2 separate regions of the Homo sapiens genome follow, and region 1 is linked to region 2. The links are contacts of gene promoters, found by promoter capture Hi-C in human tissues and cell types (Jung and others, 2019). All regions are on one chromosome and are shown on one strand. Each heading gives the region's core, a stretch centred on a gene start or on the middle of the fragment in contact. The rest is flanking DNA. Distances are from core to core; before and after follow the strand shown.

Evidence for each region. Contacts are between HindIII fragments. The study calls those that stand out against the background at their distance.
Region 1: a contact is called between a fragment that was not itself captured here and the fragment with the promoter of ABHD3 in region 2, in 3 of the 25 tissues and cell types used here (lymphoblastoid cells, spleen and stomach).

The regions. Positions count from the first base shown.
Region 1 is chr18:21,765,303-21,768,648 of GRCh38, forward strand. MIB1 (MIB E3 ubiquitin protein ligase 1) reads left to right here. Exons shown (of 21, transcript NM_020774.4): 2 at 470-641; 3 at 3,321-3,346. Among named protein-coding and RNA genes, the nearest start is that of MIB1, 26 kb to the left of the region's middle. The HindIII fragment of the contact is 7,506 bases long and covers 1-3,346 here.
Region 2 is chr18:21,703,374-21,706,870 of GRCh38, forward strand. It overlaps ABHD3 (abhydrolase domain containing 3, phospholipase), which reads right to left and starts at 1,401. Exons shown (of 9, transcript NM_138340.5): 1 at 1,131-1,401; 2 at 211-374. The coding sequence starts at 1,292. It also overlaps a transcript of MIB1 not described here. RefSeq lists enhancers at 129-278, 1,739-1,808 and a silencer at 799-1,568. The HindIII fragment of the contact is 17,143 bases long and covers 1-3,497 here.

The sequences.
Region 1 (3,346 bases), core at 485-2,984, 62 kb after region 2:
ATATCTAAGGGTGGTAAATGCTTAGGTTAATTGATAGTTTGTTTCCATGATATCATGAAGGCAAAATGGTCTTTTCTTTTGGAGTAATTGTTTACCTAGAAAATAGTTGAAAATTCTTTCAAAGATTTCTGAGGTTTTGTAGTCTGAAACATCTCCTTAGTGATAAAGGATTCTTTCTTTCTCTGTGCTGAACTTAAGTTCTAGTTTGTGGATGAGAGCGAGGAAAGAGTTACTGAGATGTGTTCTTACTAATGAAAAAGGGAGCAGAGGGAAAATATATATAATTCGCATTTATTAACGTAGTTGAGATCCATTATCTTGAAGCTATATGTGTTAAATTTGAAGTGTTATTTCCTAATTTATTAGAATATCTTGTAAAATGTTCTGTTCTTATTTTTTTCCCCCAAGGAATAATATTCAAATAAATAAAATTTGTGATTAATCTGAGCATGTGTCCTTGTTTTAATAGGCATCAAGCATGATGGAACCATGTGTGATACCTGCCGCCAGCAACCAATCATTGGCATTCGATGGAAGTGTGCAGAGTGTACAAATTATGATTTGTGCACAGTGTGTTATCATGGAGATAAACATCATTTAAGACATCGCTTTTACCGAATTACTACACCGGGAAGTGAGAGGTAGGGAGAACCCTTTTCTTCTTCAACCGAGGGTTTTTGTTTGTATTCAAGTTATGTACTTCTGGGCCTTAAAAATAGGATTAGCAAATAGCTTCTGACAGTTGGTTTACTAACAGGAGGTACCCAATAGTAGGATAGAAGTGGACCAAATCTGCCATATAACAAGAGAAGAGCTCTTTGAAGATGGAGCTGTCTGTACTTTTCCAAGGTAATCTGGGCTATTCTTTCTCTGGCTTAGAGGGTTAGCACTACTCTACATTTGGAAATACAAGGGTATCCAAAAAGATACCAATTGTTTTCTTCTCACTATGCCTTCTAGTCTGTTAATTGATATCAGATGAATGGTAGGGCTCATTGATTGAGTCAGTAGGCATTTATTAGGACTATACAACATCTACTATGTTTATGGACACTAGAAGATAAATAAGACACATAGTATTCTTAAGGAGTTTACAAATTAAAGGAAATAATGAGTCAGTGATTATCATGTGATGTTTTAGACTGTGTTAGAGATATGTATTAAGTGTCTTAGGAGCAAGGAGAGAGGAGTATTCATTGTTAATGGGGGCGGAGTTTTAGGTAATGGGATCTTCTCATGTAGATACAGATACTGCAAAGGAGCGAGAATCCAGCCAGTCATAGGGAGGCAGCTAGGAGTAGGAGTAGATAAATAGATTTTGGAGTCATACCTCTCTTGGTGTAGATCATAATCGTGCCACTTATTAACTGAGTAATTTTGAACAAGTTGGTTATTTTTGTCTTTTGTTTGCAATTAAAATTAAGGAATAATAAAGACACTGTAAAAATGAATAAGGCTGGGCGGGTGGCTCATGCCTTTAATTCTAGCACTTTGGGAAGCCTGAGGTGGGAGGATTACTTGAGGCCAGGCGTTCAAGACCACCCCGGACAGCATAGTAAGACCTCATCTCTATTAAAATAAGTAAATAAATGAAAAGAATAGAACAATAAAATAAAATTAGGAAAACAAAACAAAAATCTCCAAACCTTTCTGATTATGTGAATGAGAAAGATGTAGAACAATAGGGATACATGGTCTTGGAGAACCAAGCTGGACCAGATACTTGAGTGTAGAATCTTTATCAAGGTTCATAATCTTCTGTAAGTATGTAGTACTGTGAGAACAGGTTAGTGTAGGTAAAATCCAGACCACAGATGTATTTTACCGATACATACATATATTAATCCCTTTTCATACTGCTATGAAGAAATACCCGAGACTGGGTAATTTATAAAGGAAAGAGGTTTAATTGACTTACAGTTCAGCATTGCTGGGGAGGCCTCAGGAAACTTATAATCATGGTGGAAGGGGAAGCAAACACGCCCTTCCTTCTTCACATGGCAGCAGCAAGGAGAAGTGCTGAGCAAAAAAGGGGGAAAGCCCCTTATTAAAATCATCAGGTCTCGTGAGAACTCACTATCAAGAGAACAGCATGGAGGTAACCGCCCCCATGATTAAGTTACCTCCCACTGGGTCCCTCCCTCGACGTGTGGGAATTATGGAAACTACAGTTCAAGATGAGATTTGGGCGGGGACACAACCAAATCATATCAATACAGTACTCTTAAATTTTTGAATAATGGCTATTTTTTTTTTGTTTTTTGAAATGGAGTCTCTCTCTGTTGCCCAGGCTGGAGTGCAGTGGCACAATGTTGGCTCACTGTAACCTCCGCCTCCCAGGTTCACGCCATTCTCCTGCCTCAGCCTCCCGAGTAGCTGGGACTACAGGCGCCCGCCACCACACCCAGCTAATTTTTTGTATTTTTAGTAGAGACAGGGTTTCACCGTGTTAGTCAGGATGGTCTCGATCTCCTGACCTCGTGATCCACCTGCCTTGGCCTCCCAAAGTGCTGGGATTACAGGTGTGAGCCACCATGCCTGGCTGGAATAATGGCTAGTTTTTAAAAACAGGTGATTTCACACAAAAATCTGTTGATGGATTCATAGAACACCCTGCTCCCCCCACTGCCCCCGCCAATACAGAAGACTATCAGTACTGGGCTTACGTTTGTTCTTGGCAACAGTTTGTTGAAGCAATGGAGCCCTTTAGACTGGACCTTTTAGACTGATGATGCTTTTGAGTCAACCAAAGTCCCTGCCATTTCCTGTTATCTTCCCAAGTCTGAGGTCAAGTGCCATTTGCCATTGTAGTGCTGTCTTTCTTGGGCTGTCATTACTCACCTAGAAGCTATAGCGATTTGAGTTTGCCATCTCTACAATAGTGAAGAGTATAGTGATACCCAGATACCCTGAAATGCTTAGACTAGGATCATATGTGGAGTCCATTACATTTTAACTTTTGTGGCCTTGGGCACATTACTTCTTTGAGACTCAGTTTCCTCATTTATAAAGTGGATAATATAGCGGTAACTTTCTCTTAAGGAGTGTAACACACTTTACTCCTATGCAAGTGCTTTTACATATTATATAATAAAAGCTTAGTAAAAGTTAGCTGTGATTATTATTACAGCTACTACTGCCATCATCATCATCACCTGTGGAATATAAAAGGTATTCCTGTATCATGCTATTATGGTAGTAACCAGAACAATGAAGAATCTTTTTACTTTCAAAATAACATTTTTATAATTTTGTTTTAAAAAGTAAATTATTGTTACCTATTTTTATATAAACTTGAAAATAAATAATTTTATTTTTAGGGTTCTGTTAGAGTCTCGTAGGAAAT
Region 2 (3,497 bases), core at 151-2,650:
GGGCGGGGACCAGGAGGCAAATACCTGCAGCTGGGGTATTTTCCTGCAGCTGGGGGTGGAGCCGGGGACGTACCTTCCATTTTCATTCCCTCTTTCTGTTCTATATACTTCCTAAAGCAGATTCTATTAACCAAGAACTGGGAATAAGCAAGCAAGCAAACAAACAACCTGTGATTTTGCAGAAATGACTGAAAACGGAAATTCACTTACTTCCTGTACTGCACCGGGGGCTTCGAAGTGATGAAAGGTCTAAGCAGGGTCTGTCCTCGACCCTCCCAGCACCAGACCGTCGGGTAGTACGTTTCTGTAACCACGGGACAGTGGTCTTGAAGGAAGCGGCTGAAACTCTCACCCCCGGTCACTAACTGGGGTTTCTGAAGGGAAAAGCAGTATCAGAGAAGGGCCCAGAGCAAAGTTTCTGCCAACCGTAAACCAGAAACCGGCAAAGACTTGTCGCTCGCGCGCGCGCTTCCTCCGATTACAACTCTTTCTGGAGGGCTGACGCAAAAAATTCACAGTCACAGAGGACTGAAACGGGGGTTTCGCCAATGCCCCGAGGGGAAGGCGAGAATCGCGATAAGGGAGTTTGTTTGTTTTTAACTCCGCCTCCCGGGTTCAGGGGATTCTCCTGCCTCAGCCTCCCGAGTAGCTGGGATTGCAGGCGTCCGCCACCACGCCCGGCTAATTTTTTGTAATTGTAACGGGGTTTCACCATTTTGGTCAGGCTGGTCTCGAACTCTTGACCTCAGGTGATCCACCCGCCTCGGGCTCCCAAAGTGCTGAGATTACAGGCGTGAGCCACCGTGCCCTGCCCGGAGTCATTTTCAAAAGCGCCACGGCGTTCCCGAGTGCGCCGCCGGCTTCGCGATCGGTGACCGGGCAGCGCCGCAGCGCAGAAGTCAGCCGGGTTCAGGCTGCGCTCCGAGGACCACCCGGCCGGGACCCCCAGGGGGCGGGCGAACGGGCGGGGCCTGTTGGCTTTCCCGCGCGCGCTGGGGGCTGCCGCTCGGGAGCAGCTCGCCGCCTATCCCCGGGGCTGCCGACCGCCCCTGGCCGCGCAGCCTCGCGCCGCGCCTGCTACCCTAGCTCCTGGCCCAGCAGCCCGCGGCCCTGCGCCACCCCCGGCTCACCTTGGCAATGCTGCTCAGGTAGTAGAAGGCATAAGCGACGCTGAAGCCCAGGATAAGGGATAAGCCCACCCCCGAGCCGAAGAACCCCACCCGGACTTGGTGTTCCAGGTAGAGGGAGAGCTCCCGGGACAACATCCGCAGGTCCATGGCCAGGCGCTGCATGGCCCCCGAGCGCGGCGCGCGGGTCCTGCGGCGGGAGGAGAGCCGGCTGGCGAGCGGGCGAGAGCGGGCGAGAGCGGACGCGGCGCCGCTGCCTACTCCCGACCACAGTGTCTCCTGCCTGGCGGAGCGCGGCTTCCGACAACGGGCGGGGCGGAGCGGCCCAGGGAGGCGTAGCCCGAGACTCCAACGCCGCCCGCTCCGCCCCGGCTTCCTGGAGCCGCCCCCACTGCCAGCCACTCAGGAACCTTCCAGAAGCGCGGTTCCAAGACCGGCCACCGGGAGGGCGGGCGGACTGGGTTCTCCCAGCTAGGTCGCAGTGGGCGATGGGGATCCCCAAGGGTGGGCCGAGAGCTGACGGATCGGCAGCGCTGGTTAAGGCCCCGCACCTGCAGCCCCAGTGACCTTGAACGATTCCGCTCTGCGGCGGGTGTCCCTAAACTAGCAGTTTAGGGTGTCAGGTAAGCGTGCCTTGCATTCAAAGATTTGGGGAGTTAATGCCAAAGATATGTTAGCAGGTAAGAATCCCACATCCTCTAGACGTTTGCGTTGGTCCTCAAGACTATGGAAAGAGAAAAAATATTCTATGAGCATTCAACAGTGAGGACATCATACTCGACTCTGAATCACTCTGTGAATCTTTTTAGTTGCTAAGTGTCACTTAAATGAGAAGTGGTCTCTGAAAATAAATGAAAAGGTCAAGAATAGCAACCGGGATTCAATTGTTAAAAGCCTATTTGTGGTTCATTAATGCTTTGAATTTAGAGACTTATGGAAATTCACACCGATTACCTAATGTACAGACAAGAAACCATTTATGAAGTAGGGTCTCCTAGGCTTATTTATGGCAATATGATAAATCAGGATACTTATGGTTATCTGAAATGGTTAGAATTTAATAGCCTATTCCTACTCTTATGAACTCCTTCCTCAGAGAGGTAGGAAGAATGGCAAGACTTAAACAGACGAAAGAAGGGAAAGTGCTGTCTAGATTATGAAAAATGCCAAAGGATTGTAAATTAATGATGTAATTTAGATGGGGACATGAGACGGACCAGAAGTGAGCAATTTATTTGGCTCCGATTTGGTCATTGCAACTTGGTGGTTGGCTGCAGCACCCAAAATAATTCAATTACCTTTACTGAGCCTGTTTTTTTCTTGTTTTAATAATCTGTAGCGTAACAATTTCTACTTTATAGAGTTCCCGAGAGGACAAGATAGTGTATATACTGGACTCCCCGTGAGCAGAAGTAATTTTCACGCTCTGGCTCTCACACCTGAGCACACATAGCAAACGTGAATGCATATGCTGGTTGCCATACTTGAAACTTCATAGCATTCTTCATAACCCCTGCACCAGCCTTCTGCACTACCTACCAATAAATGCATGCGTATTTCAGTTTAAGTTTGTTCTGTTTTGTTTTGTTTTGTTTTTTGAGACAGAGTTTTGCTCTTGTTGCCCAGGCTGGAGTGCAATGGCGAGATCTCGGGTCACTGCAACCTCCACCTCCCGGGTTCACGTGATTCTCCTGCCTCAGCCTCCCGAGTACCTGGGATTACAGGCATGCACAACCACACCCAGCTAATCTTGTATTTTCAGTAGAGACAGGGTTTCACCATGTTGACCAGGCTGGTCTGGAACTCCTGATCCACTCGCCTCGGCCTCCCAAAGTGCTGGTGAGAGGTGACAACGTGCTAGCAGCCCTCGCTCGCTCTCAGCACCTCCTCAGGCCAGGGCATCCACTCTGGCCGCGTTTGAGGAGCCCTTCAGCCCGCTGCTGCACTGTGGGAGCCCCTCTCTGGGCTGGCTGAGGCCGGAGCCAGCTCCCTCTGCTTGCAGGGAGGTGTGGAGAGAGAGGCGTGGGCGGGAACCGGGGCTGCTGTGCCCCGCGATCACGGGCCAGCGGGAGTTCCGGGTGGGTGTGGGCTCGGCGGGCCCTGCACTCTGAGCGCCGGCTGGCACCGCCGGCCCTGGCCAGTGAGGGGCTTAGCACCCAGACCAGCAGCTGTGGAGGGTGCCCCGGGTCCACCAGCAGTGCCAGCCCGCCAGCGCTGCACTGGAATTCTTGCTGGGCCTCAGCTGCCTCCCCACGGGGCAGGGCTCAGGACCTGCAGCCCGCCATGCCTGAGCCGCACCCCCCGCCCCACTGTGGGCTCCTGCGGGGCAAGCCTCCCCCACGAGCGCTGCCCCCTGCTCTGCCAAGCCGG